Linked DNA regions of Homo sapiens: region 2 is linked to region 1. The links are contacts of gene promoters, found by promoter capture Hi-C in human tissues and cell types (Jung and others, 2019). All regions are on one chromosome and are shown on one strand. The core of a region is centred on a gene start or on the middle of the fragment in contact, and the rest is flanking DNA. Distances in the headings are between cores, read along the strand shown. Region 1 holds the start of RABEP2 (rabaptin, RAB GTPase binding effector protein 2). Region 2 holds the start of SBK1 (SH3 domain binding kinase 1).

Region 1 (7,004 bases), core at 2,435-4,934:
GGTGGCTCCCAGGGCCTTGAATGTGACGCCAAGAGGTTTGGAACTTATTCTACAGGTCAGCAGGAGATGGAGGTGATGTTGGATAGAACATAGATTTTTTTTTTTTTTTTTTTTTTTTTAAGGGAGTCAGGTTCGGGCGCTGTGGCTCATACCTGTAATCCCAGCACTTTGGGAGGCCGAGGTGGGCAGATCATCTAGGTCAGGAGTTCGAGACCAGCCTGGCCAACATAGTGAAACCTTGTCTCTACTGAAAACACAAAATTTAACCAGGCATGGTGGTGGGCGCCTGTAATCCCAGCTACTTGGGAGGCTGAGGCAGGAGAATTGTTTGAACCCAGGAGGCGGAGGTTGCAGTGAACCGAGATTGTGCCACCGCACTTCAGCCTGGGTGACTGAGCGGGACTCCGTCTCAAAAAACAAAAAAACAAAAAAAAGAGAGTCAGGGTCTCCCTCTGTCACCCAGGCTGGAGTGCAGTGGTGCAATCATAGTTCACTGCAGCCTTAAACTCTTGGGCTCAAGTGAACCTCCCACCTCACCCTCCCAAGTAGCAGGGACCACAGGCACTTGCCACCATACCCAGCTAAGGGTCTCACTTTGGTGCCCAGGCTGGTCTCAAACTCCTGACCTCAACTGATCCTCCCACCTGAGTAACATGGACTTGTTTGATTTTTGGTAGAACGTGGTCATTTTTTGTTTGTATAGATATTGACCTATTATTGTGCACTAACAGTAGAAGTAAAGGTTCAGCTGGGCCGGGCGTGCTGGCTCACGCCTCTAATTCCAGCACTTTGGGAGGCCGAGGTGGGCGGATCACAAGGTCAGGAGATCGAGACTATCCTGGCTAACACGGTGAAACCCCATCTCTACTAAAAATACAAAAAATGGGGCCGGGCGTGGTGGGTCACCCCTCTAATCCCAGCACTCTGGGAGGTCGAGGCAGGCAGATCACGAGGTCAGGAGATCGAGACCATCCTGGCTAACACAGTGAAACCCCGTCTCTACTAAAAATTAAAAAAAAAAATTAGTCAGGCGTGGTGGCGAGCACCTGTAGTCCCAGCTGGTTGGGAGGCTGAGGCAGGAGAATAGCATGAACCCGGGAGGTGGAGCTTGCAGTAAGCCAAGATCACACCACTGTACTCCAGCCTGGGCGACAGAGTAAGACTCCATCTCAAAAGAAAAGAAAAAAAAAATTAGCCACGTGTGGTGGCACACGCCTGTAGTCCCAGCTACTTGGGAGGCTGAGGAAGGAGAATCGCTTGAACCCGGGAGGTGGAGGTTGCAGTGAGCTGAGACTGCACCACTGAACTCCAGTCTGGGTAACAGTGAGACACTGTCTCAGAAAAAAAAAAAAATAGGTTCAGCTGTTAGGCTGCTTGGTTTCCAACCTTTGGCTGTTTTCCAGCTATATGACCTTGGGCAAGTTATTTAACCTCTCCGGGCCTCAGAGCTTCCTCTGTAAAATGGAGATGGGTAATAGTTCCTGCCTCACAGAGTTTGTTATGAAGATTAGTTACTCATAAAGCATTTAGCTCAGTGCCTGGCACATAGTGAGTGCTCAAAACATGCTACCTGGCCAGGCGCGGTGGCTCACACCTGTAATCCCAGCACTTTGGGAGGCCAAGGCAGGCAGATCGTTTGAGCTCAGGAGTTCAAGACCTGTCTGGGTAACATAGAGAGACCCTGTTTCTACAAAAAAATACTAAAAATTAGCCAGGCATGGTGGCATGCACCTGTAGTCTTGGCTACTTGGGAGGCTGAGGTAGGAGGATCTGCTTGAGCCCAGGAGGTGGAGGTTGCAGTGAGCTGAGATCACACCAGCGTGCTGTGACGCACTCCAGCTTGGGCGACAGAGTGAAACTCTTATTGACTCAAGAAAAAAAAAAAAAGCTAGCTATTGTTATTATTTAGGACACACCTGGCTTTTCTTATATAGTAGATATAACAAGTTTCCCTTAATAAATGTATGTAAACTTTTAAAATGTGGATCTATTTAAAGAACAAATATTAAGTAAACAGCACAGTAAGTTGTACAAGGATGTGTCTACATTGCACAGGCAGGTGGATCCTGAAATGTGGGAAATACAGCCCCAGAGAAGTCTCCAGCCACCAGCAGCTGTTAGAAAGGGAAATCGCATGTTGGGAAGGGAATTTTAGGAAGTTTACTCTGGAAGCCAATGTCAAGGCCACACTATAGAGGAAGATCTGTGAGAAGGTTGGGACAAAAGTCCAGGAGAGAGTTGACGAGAGCCCCACCGCAGCAGGGGCATAGCAGCGGGGGCAGCTCTGACATCTGTTTCAGAGTCTCTGGCTTCTGCTAGAGGAAGGAGAGTAGAAAACAGGATCAGCAGCTGGGGCGTCTGGGGCCAGAGGACCAAGTACAAAGAACGTGGGGCGGAGGTGGGGAAGCTGGTGCATGGCGTGGGGTGGAGGGGGGAGTGTCTGGGGAAGGCTAGAGAGCAGAGCATTAGACTCACAGAGACTGGGCCAGGGCTGATTCTATTTCCCAGAAGTCCAGACTAAAATGAGGTTGGTTTGGGGAACTGAGAAGTTTCTCGCCCATCTTCAGGGTTGATCAATCATCAGTGAGGGACAAGAAATGACATGGGACAAGGCAACAGATAGAAGCTGGGAGCTAAACTTAGCTATAACTGACAGAGCTGCTGCTATCACATGGAGGGCCTCTATGCAAATTTTAAAAGGGCGGCCCTTCCTCTGGGCCATAGGCATGCCCTGTGCCAGGCAGCCCTGCTAACCTATCCCATAGCTTATCTGTGCCCCCAATCCCTTTCTCGTCATGCACTCCCCAGTATGGGGTTGATGGGGAGTCTAGGTGAGTCCCGCGTCTCACCTTTCAGGATGGCCTGCAGCGAGGCCACCTCCTCTTGGCACTGCCGCTGCACCGCAGCCACAGCCTCGGCCTTCGTGCTCTCGCTCACCTCTGCCACAGCCTTCATGGTTTCCATTTCTGCCAGGGCGCCTGCCAGCTCAGCCCGAAGCCGGCTGAGCTCACCTGACTCGGCCTCACCATTTGCCCCTTCCTGGGACCGGGAGTCCTCCAGTGCTGTGGGGGACAGGGATCAGCCTCTCTTCCCATCTCTTACCCCAGGCCACCTACCGGCTTAGCAAGTCCTGCAACCTAGTACTGTTGCCTTCATCTGGGGCCTCCTTCACCTGGGCCCGCCCGGCTCACCTGGCCCCGCCCCTGCCCCGCCCCCTTCCCACTCGCTCTGCCGGGTGCTGCCTACACTCCATCTCTTCGCGGTGGCCAGTTTCACTCAGTCCTCTCTTCGGTCCCACCTGGCCCCGCCCTCCTAGTGGCCGCGCCCCTTCCTCACCGGGCCCCACTTCGCACCTGTCACTGGCCCTACCCCTTCAATGGCCGGGCCACGCCCCCTTTTGCCTGTGGCTGTAGGCCCCGCCCCCTTTCCCGACGGCGTGGCCCCGCCCCTTCCTCCATCATCCCTCTCCACCCCCCATCCGCAGGTGGCTGGCTCGGCCCCGCCCCCAGCATCACCGTTCCCCGCTTGCACGGACGCCCCCTCACGTACCAGCCCCCGGCCGCCGCCGCCGCTCATCGTCGTCCGCGGCCACCGGCGCAGCTGCCGCCATTGCCTCAGCGCAAACGGCGGATTCCCGCACTCCCTGGTGACGGAGCGCACCGCTTCCGGGTCCTCTCGGCTGTTTCCGGATCCGCTCGGCTGTTTCCGGATCGGCCCCGGGCTGGAGGCCCCGGACGGAGGATGGGGGGATTGCCGAGCCTCGGCCGAAGATTCCCGAGTCGGCCCCCGGCCCCGGCCCCGGCCCCGCCCCGGCTCTTCTTGGCTGGGTCGCGCGGTTCGGGAGGACGCCTGCCTTTCAAGCCCGGAAGAGGATCCTTAAGAGGTCTTGCCCGGCGTCTCTCCGTGACCTTGGAAGCCCTGCTCCAATTATGCCTCCTCCGGGACACCGGCCTGCGGAGAGCTCCCCCTCGCTCCCTCGCTGCCCCTGCCCGGAGCCAGCCTTTGATCGGCTCCGGCCGCCCTTCCGCCCGAGCCTGGCTTGCGTTACCGCGAATTGTGGCGGGGCCCTCCCTGCACCTCCGCCCTCTTGGAGCGTCCCTCGGGGCAGGGCCGGGTCGGCTTCATTTTTCTGAGCGCCTCGGAGTCCCCGCGTAGTTAGTCGGAGTCTGAAACTTGCACGTCCCCACCCCCATTTTGTTACTCAGCCAGTCACCGCTTCCTGCTGGCCCCCCTTTCCTCCTCCCAACGCCCTCAAATCCCTCCTCTCCTCTCCGCCTGTGTCTAGATCAGGCTCTTTATCTGTGACCTCCACCCGGACGGTGACAGGCAATTCAGATTTATGTCCAGAGCCTTGGTTCCCCTTCCCTCAAACCTTTTTTCCCTCTGTAAAGGACACGCCAGGAACCTGGAAGTCCTTGATTCTACGTGTCCTCCTGCAAGTCCCGTAAACTCTACTTCCAATGTGCTGACTATTCCAGAATGTGCCCCTTTTTCTCCATCTCCAGCGCTAACACTCCGTCCCAGCTCCCATCACTTCTCCTGAACTTCCGCAGTGTCGACTCCACCCTTTAATTAATTAATTCTCCGTAAAGCAGCTGGAGCGATTTTTGTAAAACAGATAATGCAGTTTGAAAATGGCCAAAGGTAGAACGCTTTTACACTGTTGGTGGGAATGTAAATTAGTTCAACCATTGTGGAAGACAGTGTGGTGATTCCTCAAAGACCTAGAACCAGAAATACCATTTGACCCAGAAATCCCATTACTGGGTATATACCTAAAGGAATATAAATCATTCTATTACAAAGATACATGCACGAGTATGTTCATTGAAGCACTATTCAAAATAGCAAAGACATGGACTCAACCCAAATGCCCATCAATGATAGACTGGATAAAGAAAATGTGGTACATATACACCATGGAATACTATACAGCCATAAAAAGGAACGAGATCATGTCCTTTGCAGGGACATGGATGAAGCTAGAAGCTATTATCCTCAGCAAATTAATGCAGCAACAGAAAGCTAAACATGCATGTTCTCACTTATAAGTGGGAGCTGAACAATGAGAACACATGGACACAGGGAGGGGACCAACACACATGGGGGCCTGTGGGGTGGGTGTTGGGAGGGGGGAGGGAGAGCATCAGCAAGAGTAGCTAATGCATCCTGGGCTTGATACCTAGGTGATGGGTTAATGGGTGCGGTAAACTACCATGGCAGATGTTTCCCTGTGTAACAAACCTGCACATCGTGCACATGTACCCCAGAACTTGAAATAAAGAAAATGGACAAAGGATATGAACGGATATTTCACTGCTGTCACAGGTGGCAATATGTGCATGAAAAGATGTTAAACATCATTAGCTATTTATTCGGGAAATACAAATTAAAACCACAATTGCTTTCATCACTACGCACTTCTTGGAATGGCTAAAATAAGAATGCTAACACCAAATGCTGGTGAGTATGTGGAGAAACTAGGTTTCTCATATTTTGTTGATGGGAATGTGAAATGGTATAGCCACTCTGCAAAAAGAGTATGGCAGTTTTGAACAAAACTAAACACGCACTTACTTTTTCATCAAGTATAAAACCAAGTGTTTTCCACCAAGCTTGGAGCTGAGGTCTCGGCTCAAATGTTACCTCCTCAGTGAGGCCTTCCCTGATCACCCTAACTAAAATAACCACCTCTGGCTGAGTGTGGTGGCTTATGCCTATAATGCTAGCACTTTAGGAGGCCAATGGCAGGAGGATCACTTGAGCCCAGGGGTTCGAGACCAGCCTGAACAACATAGTGAGACCTCATCTCTACAAAAAATTAAAAAATTAGCTGGGCATGGCCGGACACGGTGGCTCACGCCTGTAATCCCAGCACTTTGGGAGGCTGAGGAGGGCGGATCACGAGGTTAGGAGATCAAGACCATCCTGGCTAACATGGTGAAACCCTGTCTCTACTAAAAATACAAAAAATTAGCCGGGCATGGTGGCATGCGCCTATAGTCCCAGCTACTTGGGAGGCTGAGGCAGGAGAATTGCTTGAACCCGGGAGGCAGAGGTTGCAGTGAGCTGAGATCATGCCATTACACTCCAGCCTGGGCAGCAGAGCAAGACTCTGTCTCAAAAAAAAAAAAAAATTAGCTGGGCATGGTGATGTGCATCTGTAGTCCAAGCTACTCAAGAGGCTGAGGCGGGAAGATCTACTTGAGCCCTGGAGGCTGAGGCTGCAGTGAGCATGATTGTGCCACTGCACTCCAGCCTGAGGGAGAGAAAGACCCTGTCTAAAAAAAAAAAAAAAAAATTAAATCCAGACTCCCTGTGCATGCAGCAGGGTTTCTGGGGAAGGGGCTGAAATAATGACTAGAAATCAGCCTCCAGTCAGTTTGGGGAGGGCCTTCCTGACAGCTCTCAGGTTTGAGTTTATCCTGCAGGCCCTGGGAGCCACTGAAGGCCATTGAACAGGGGAAGCACATGACTAACATCAAAGAAGTTCTCTTGACATGCGGAGTGTAGATGGGAACCAAAAGATATAGGGGACAGGGAGCCCAGGAGAGAGGCTGTTGAATTGCTTCTGATTGTGAAGGAAGGATTCAGAGGGGAAAATTGATTCCATCAATATTTAGGATATAAAATGGACTGGCCTTGATGATAGAGTGCATGTGGGGGAAGAGAAAAGAAAATTTCGACCAGATGCGGTGGCTCATGCCTGTAATCCCAGCACTTTGGGAGGCTGAGTTGGGTGGATCACCTGAGGTCAGGAGTTCAAGACCAGCCTGGCCAACATGGTGAAACCTTGTCTCTACTAAAAATAGAAAAATTAGCTGGGCGTGGTGGTGCGCACCTGTAATCCCAGCTACTCAGGTGGCTGAGGCAGGAGAATCACTTGAACCTGGAAGGCAGATGTTGCAGTGAGCCGAGATCGCATTACTGTACTCCAGCCTGGGCAACAAGAGTGAAACTCTGTCTCAAAAAAAAAAAAAGAAAAGAAAATTTTCTTTCAGCTA
Region 2 (7,004 bases), core at 2,666-5,165, 630 kb before region 1:
TACCTGGTGATGTGACCCGACCCTTCAGTCCTGAGGGACCTAAATTATTGGTTATTGTAACCCATGGATCACTGGATTCCCATATATTCCTCCTTGTCCTCCCACTGTAAAAGCAGCCCTGCCCTCTCTGCTGACCAGGGTCAGTTAGTGCAGCCATGCTGGTGCCCTCTCTTCTCACCTGCTGGTCCCAGAACACATGGAGTCCAAAGTTTCCCAGCCCCGGCCACAGCTTAAATTTAATGGGACCCATGCTGTGTCCCCTGGCTAGAGCATACCCTCTTTGGGGACCAGGACTTCCCTCCCTGTAGAACTGAGAGGGAGTCGGGAGGGGGACTTAATTACCCACAATGCATGCCAGCAAACCTTTACTAACTGCACTATGGGTAATCAAAGCCCCAGATAAGGAATCAGGGAAGGTTTCCGCAGAAGGTGGCCTTGAACTGGGCAACCCTTGATTAACTGTGGCTAGGGGCACTGCAAAGCTTGATTTGACTCCTCCCCTCTCTAGGTCTGTTTCTTCCTCTGCAAAAAGAGGAAAGTGCTCTCTAAGTGCTAACATTCTGAGACTCAGCTTTTAGACACAGAATGTTTTCTTCCTGCTTTCTCCCTCTCCAGCCCCCTCTTCTGCACACCCAATAACTCAAATCCCTCTATTAGTTTATTTACGGCACTAAGGCCTTGGAGAGGATTAGAACAAAGTTAGAATGAAATCCGAAACTCCTCTACATTGGCAGGACAAGGAGTGTGGGAGAGGAAGGGAAGACACAGAGTTCTTAGAAGAGAACTTGTTTGGAAAACAAGGAGGAAGGGAAAGGTGTTCCAGACAGAGGAAACCGAGTAGACAAAGGCGTGGAGGTATCAAAAGCAGATGTCAGGCCGGGTGAGGTGGTTCACACCTGTAATCCCAGCACTTTGGGAGGCTGAGGTGGACAGCTCACCTGAGGTCGGGAGTTCAAGACCAGCCTGGCCAACAATGGCAAAACCTCATCTCTACTAAAAATACAAAAATTAGCCAGGCGTGGTGGTACACACCTGTAATCCCAACTACTTGGGAGGCTGAGGCAGGAGAATCACTTGAACCCGGGAGACGGAGGCTGCAGTGAGCCAAGATTGTGCCATTGCACTCCAGCCTGGGCAATAAGAGTGAAACTCCATCTCAGAAAAAAAAAAAAAACAAAAACAAACAGATGTCAGGGCTGGGCGTGGTGGCTCACACTCGCAATCCCAGCGCTTTGGGAGGCTGAGGTGGATGGAAGGCTTAAGCTCAGGAGTTCAAGACCAGCCTGGGCAACATGGCAAAACCCCATCTCTACAAAAAATACAAAAATTAGCTGAGCCTGGTGGTGCACACCTGTAGTCCTAGTTACTTAGGGGGCTGAGGTGGGAGGATCACTTGATCCCAGGAGGTTGAGGCTGTAGTGAGCCATGATTGCACCACTACACTCCAACCTTGGTGACAAAGTGAGACCCTGTCTCAAAAAAAAAAAAAAAAGACAGAGGCAGATGTCCTAGAATAGCGTGGCTGAGGTCAAGGCCGAATGGAGAAGAGAGGTCCTTTGTAGGGGAATGGAGAGCAGGCTCTAAATGTTAAGGGCTTTGAATGCCAGGATAAGTAAGGTTAGACTTTACCCTGATGGTACACAGGAAGTCCTTGGCAGTTTTATGTAAGACAGCAACCCAACCCCATTTGTATTTTACAGACCTGATGATCCCAAAGGATTTGGATTCTAGAAAAAAGACAATCACCAGGCACGGTGGCTCATGCCTGTAATCCTAGCACTTTGGGAGGCTGAGGTGGGTGGATCACTTGAAGTCAGGAGTTTGAGACCAGCCTGGCCAACATGATGAAACCCCGTCTGTAGTAAAAATACAAAAATTAGCCAGGCATAGTGGCACACGCCTGTAATCCCAGCTACTCAGGAGGCTGAGCCAGGAGAATCACTTGAACCCCGCAGGCAGAGGTTGCGGTGAGGCAAGATCGTGCCATTGCACTCCAGGCTGGGCAGCAGAGCAAGACTCTGTCAAAAAAAGAAGGAAGGTAGGAAGGCAGGAAGGAAGGAAAGAAGAAAGGAAGGAAGGAAGGGCGGGGAGAGAAAAAGAAAGAAAGGAGAAGAGAAGAGAAGAAAAGAAAAGAGAAAAAAGACAATCTAGACAGAGGCAGGAGGCCGACAAGTTAAGAACTGAAACAATATTCTCAATGGTAGAGGTTGCCAACCTATGGTCTGGGGGCCAGATTTGTCTGCAAAGTGTGTTTCATTTGGCCCATTCAATATTTCCGAATTTTGGGAATTCGTTTCAAACATTTAAAAGTTGGAAGATTTCTGGATGTCCTGCTTCTCTTTGAATATCATCCAGCCACGCACAGCCCACGATGTCTCCAGTTCCCCTCTTCTCCACCCTCTCTATCACTTTACATGCGACCCCAGTCGCTCATGTCTGCGCCTGTAGGTACTTGCGTTTGCAATCCCTGGCTCCTAAAGCTCTGGAAACAGTCGGGAGTGGCTGGGAGGATTACGCTGGGTTGAGAAAACAGCCTGATCAAAAACTTAGAAGAAATAGGGGCAGTCATAAAAAATGATGAGTTCATGTCCTTTGTAGGGACATGGATGAAGCTGGAAACCATCATTCTCAGCAAACTATCGCAAGGACAAAAAACCAAACACCGCATGTTCTCACTCATAGGTGGGAATTGAACAAAGAGAACACATGGACACAGGAAGGGGAACATCACACACCAGGGACTGTTGTGGGGTGGGGGGAAGGGGGAGGGATAGCATTAGGAGATATACCTAATGCTAAATGACGAGTTAATGGGTGCAGCACACCAACATGGCACACGTATACATACGTAACAAACCTGCATGTTGTGCATATGTACCCTAAAACTTAAAGTATAATAATAATTAAAAAAAAGAATGAAAAAGAAATGCTTTTGAAGCTTGAAGCTAAAAAAACAAAAAAAAAAGAAAGAAATAGGGAAGGCGTCCTATTGGGGCTTTCTCACTAGGGAAAGAGTGAGCTGCAGGGAGGAGAAAGAACAGGGCCTGGAAGGACGAGCTGTCCCTATCTCATCTCTGTCCCCATCCACCCACTTCATCCAGGCCACCAATTTCCGGTTATCAAACAGACAATGCAACATCCCTTACACCTGCTGTACCTCTGCCTAGAATCTCCTTTCTTCCCTTCTATCCGGCGAGCAGTTCCTCCCAGCTGCACTCCTGGACTAGTCACTGCCTATTTGCAGCAGGGATCGCAAAGGCGACCTCAGTTGGATAGGGCAACCACCCAGGCCCAAGTTTATGACCTCTTCCCCAAGAAGACTGTGAGTTCTCTGACGTCTCGCTGGAAATAGGATGCATGGATGGATGGATGGATGGATGGACGGACGGATGGATGGATGGATGGAAGCGCAGGCAGGCAGGCGGACGCATGGATGAATGAAATGCATATCCGAATGCAGAACCTGGATTTGTTTTCCCTCCTTCAAACACACACAGGCTCCGCCCCACTAGCACAGACCGGGACAGTCTGGGGCAGTCTCGTCCCGCAGGGCCCAGAAAGCTGGACCAGGTGACCCTCTCAGACTCCCCCGAGTCCTCTGTAACCTCGTTCTCGCCCCCTCGTGGGCTCTGACCTAGAAAAGGAGTGGGGTGGGTGGGGGGTGGGGGGTGGGAGCCAGCTCGGGAGCCACCGGCGCTAGGACCCAGCGCGGCCGGAAGGGGGTGGGGGCGCCGCGCGGGGAGAATCTGCGCTCCGCGGCGCGCGGCGGGAGGGCGGGCGCGCGGCGGGTGAGCGCGCTTGCGCGAGGGCGCGCGCCGAGCGGGACGGACAAAGGGGCGGGCGGCGGCGCGCGAGCCGGAGGGCGGAGCCGCGGGCCGGGCGGGCAGGTGCGCGCTGGCTGGAGGGCGGAGCCGCGATGCCGCGATGGAGCGCAGCCCGGGCGGGCGCCGGGGCCGGGGCCCGAGCGCCAGGCGGAGCGCGAGCTGGAGCCGCAGCCGGAGCCCGGGCCAGGCCGGGGGCCGGGAGCGCAGGGCCGGGCTGCTCGTAGCGGCGGCGACCGAGCCCCCCAGCGGCTGAGGGGCTTCCAGCGCCCGCCGGTGGCCGGGACCCACTAAAGCCCCCGCAGCCGAGGAGTGCGGGGAGCCCCCTTCCACATCCAGGATCCGGCGAGCCTCGGGGAAGAGGGGGGGCCCTCCCGGATCCGACACCGAGCGACTCCCCTGCGGGGAAAGCGGAGACTTCCTCGGTATTTAGAAGACAGCAAGCCCCCTACGGCACCGCAAGGACTCCCCCTCCTCAGTCTGGGCCCCCGCCCCAAGACCTAGAACGCAGTGCCCCCAGGCCGGGATTGCGAGAACCCCCTCCCAAGATCCGGTCATTACAACTCCACACCTCAAGACAAGAAGACCCAGCTCAGAACGCCCCTAGATCAGGGGATCCCAATTCCCCCCAACTCCGGTACATAGAAATCCCAAATCTAGGCAGCCGGGGACAGCAAGAGACACTCTCACCAGCAAGAAGCCTCGGGGATCCCCCCCCTAAAGCTCCAGGACTTGGGCGACTGAGCCCCTGGCGGCACCGCTTGCACCCCGGTCCATGGTCGTGGCGCCCTGAGCCCCCGGGGCCGGGCAGACGAAGACCGCGACGGCGCCCAGGCCCCCTGCCGCGGCGTCCCCGCGGCCCCAGCCCAGGTAAGCCGGGCCCAGGTGAGGGGCGGCAGGTGAGTGGCCACCGAGGTCCCCATAGCCCTGCAGGTGGGGAAGGAAGTATCGGGTTGCGCGCTCCCCCTTCCCCAGCGTCGCCATGGAGCCGAGGCTGAAGGACGTCTCTTTGTGTCTCGCTTGGAGGAGCCGCCCCCTCCTCCTCTCCCTTCCCCCACCCCACTCCCTAGCCTTGAGGCTCGGGCGCAGCTCCCCGGCCCCACGGAGGAGTGGTGGTGGAGCCCGTTGTGCCATGGAGAGGGGGGAAGAGGGCGGAGAGTCCCCCCCCAAAAGCTGCGAGCCTGGAGGTTGGCCCCCAGGTCCTTGGAGTGTGAATACCCCTCCCCCACGGCCAAGCTGAGCTTCTAGTGAAGTCCCCCCGAGAGGGGAAAATTTGGGGGTGCCCACAGGTGAGGGGGGCTGCCTTATGTGGCCCTGGGTGATGGCTGGGGCTTCGGGTGTGTGTCTTTGTCTGTGAGAGTGCGGGGAAGGGGTGTGTTTGAGCGGATGAATGGGAATCGCATCTTCCCTGTGACTCTGCTGCCCGACCCAGGCCACACTGGCGGTCTTTACCTAAACCATACTTTGTACTCCCTGTGGGACAGGGAGGGAGTAAGTACCCCCCAAAGTGAGGCGCTAGTTTCTGGGGAGGAGAGGTAGCCTAGATGAAGAAGCTATTTCAGGTCAGGGCACCGTTCTGTTCCCATTTGTCCCAGGGACAGCAACCCAAGTCTTTCCCTTCCCCTCCTAACCTGGAGAACACCCAGGTTAAACCAAGGGTTGGCTCAATGTGTCCCAGACAACCAAGGGCCAATTCCAGGGTCTCACTGTGGCTTTCCAGGTGGTACACACGGCCGTACCCCAGCCTGGCCCTCAGTGAGGTCCTGAACCCCAGGCTCTACCGCATATGAGGAAGCCGAGAGACCCTAGGGGACATTGTACCCTGAAATCCTGAATCAGATCCTGAGAAGGGGCTGGACTGCATGGAAAGAACACACTCTGGGCTGCTGGGAGTTCCTCTCATCTCTTCTCTCTGAGCCTTCTGCAGACAAGCAGTGATGCTGGACCCATTTGATAGGTGCACAAACTGAGGCTCGGGAAGGCAGGACCCAGGATACAGCTAGCCCTGCCAGTAGCTCCTTCACTTATTCATTCAACAAACCTGTCGCCAATGTCTGTGATGGACCATGCGCTAGAGTCAGGGTCCTTTTCCCCACTTCATTCCTATCTCCTTTCTTGATGTCTCCTGATCATCAGACCCCTGGGCACGTCCCATTGGGCCTGTTGAAGTGGACCGGGCCAGGTCCAGCTGAGAGATTCTTGACCCTACACCTGAAGCAGCTGATCCCTGTCCTGCTACAGCCTTGGGAGCCCTGAGCCTGGGTGGCTGACTCCTCATCTCCCACCTTCCCAGCACCAAGTGCCCCCACCCCCACCTGCTGCTGGCACTGACCCAAGGGTGAGGATGTGACCAGCTGGAGACGAGGGTAGGGGGCACTTGATGCGGGCAGACCTCTGGCAGCCTCTCCTGCCAATTTCAGGACAGTTGAGGCAGCCACCTTCAGCACAGGCTGTGGGGGAATCAGGTGCCCTGAAGACTGAGTGACCTTGGGCAAGCACGTGGCCCTTCCCAGAGAAAATGACAGAGAGTGAGCCTCTCTGCAGCTTGAAGGGCGGATGGAGATCGAAATTGGGCAGGACAAGCATCCAGGTTTGCTCTACCCATTGCTGAAGGAGTTCATTTCCCCCCAGTGGGGGTTCCCAGAAGCCCAGGGCTTTGTCACACACCCCACAGGCAAGGCAGTGGAACCAGAGGCTGAAGAGCAGAAATTTGAGTCACTGTGTCCAGGGCAAACTGTGAGGAGGCCAGAGGAGGACAAGGAGCAAGACCTCCCCTCCTCACTAACCTGCAGTGGCTCTCCATTGAGTCCAGAATCAAGTCGCTGAGTCCAGATAGTCTCTGGACTGCAGCCTGGCCCTAAACCACCTCTCCTAGCCCATCTCCTCCGTGTCCTCTAATTCTCTGCCTCCGTCACGTGCTCTTCCCCTGACCTGAAAAGCCCCACTCTAGGATGGCTCCGGAGCCGTTTTCTGCCTCCACCTCCCTTTTTGAGCTGACCTGAGCTGGCACGTAGTAGAGAGCTGAATTTGATTGGTTGGTGGTTTGGTGGCTTGGAGGTAGTGGCGTGTGTCTACATGTGCAGTGAGAGTTTGTCTCCACATCTAGACTCAGCTCCAGGAGACGGGAACCAGGTTTGTCTTGTCCATACTGCATCAGCATTGTCTAATTCAGAGCCCAGCGTA

The links. The method cuts DNA at HindIII sites, captures the fragments that hold promoters and counts their contacts. A contact is called where the count stands out against the background at its distance.
Region 2: the fragment with the promoter of SBK1 here is called in contact with the fragment with the promoter of RABEP2 in region 1 in 1 of the 25 tissues and cell types used here (lymphoblastoid cells).

Annotation. Positions count from the first base shown.
Region 1 is chr16:28,921,554-28,928,557 of GRCh38, forward strand. It overlaps RABEP2 (rabaptin, RAB GTPase binding effector protein 2), which reads right to left and starts at 3,685. Exons shown (of 13, transcript NM_024816.3): 1 at 3,550-3,685; 2 at 2,850-3,062. The coding sequence starts at 3,610. RefSeq lists enhancers at 2,817-2,906, 2,937-3,166, 4,145-4,728 and silencers at 3,327-3,546, 3,577-3,926. The HindIII fragment of the contact is 23,237 bases long and covers 1,399-7,004 here.
Region 2 is chr16:28,288,610-28,295,613 of GRCh38, forward strand. SBK1 (SH3 domain binding kinase 1) reads left to right here and starts at 3,916. Exons shown (of 4, transcript NM_001024401.3): 1 at 3,916-4,691. LOC124903670 (a long non-coding RNA gene) reads right to left here and starts at 3,456. Exons shown (of 2, transcript XR_007065033.1): 1 at 3,158-3,456. RefSeq lists silencers at 3,408-3,579, 3,787-4,016. The HindIII fragment of the contact is 7,957 bases long and covers 1,711-7,004 here.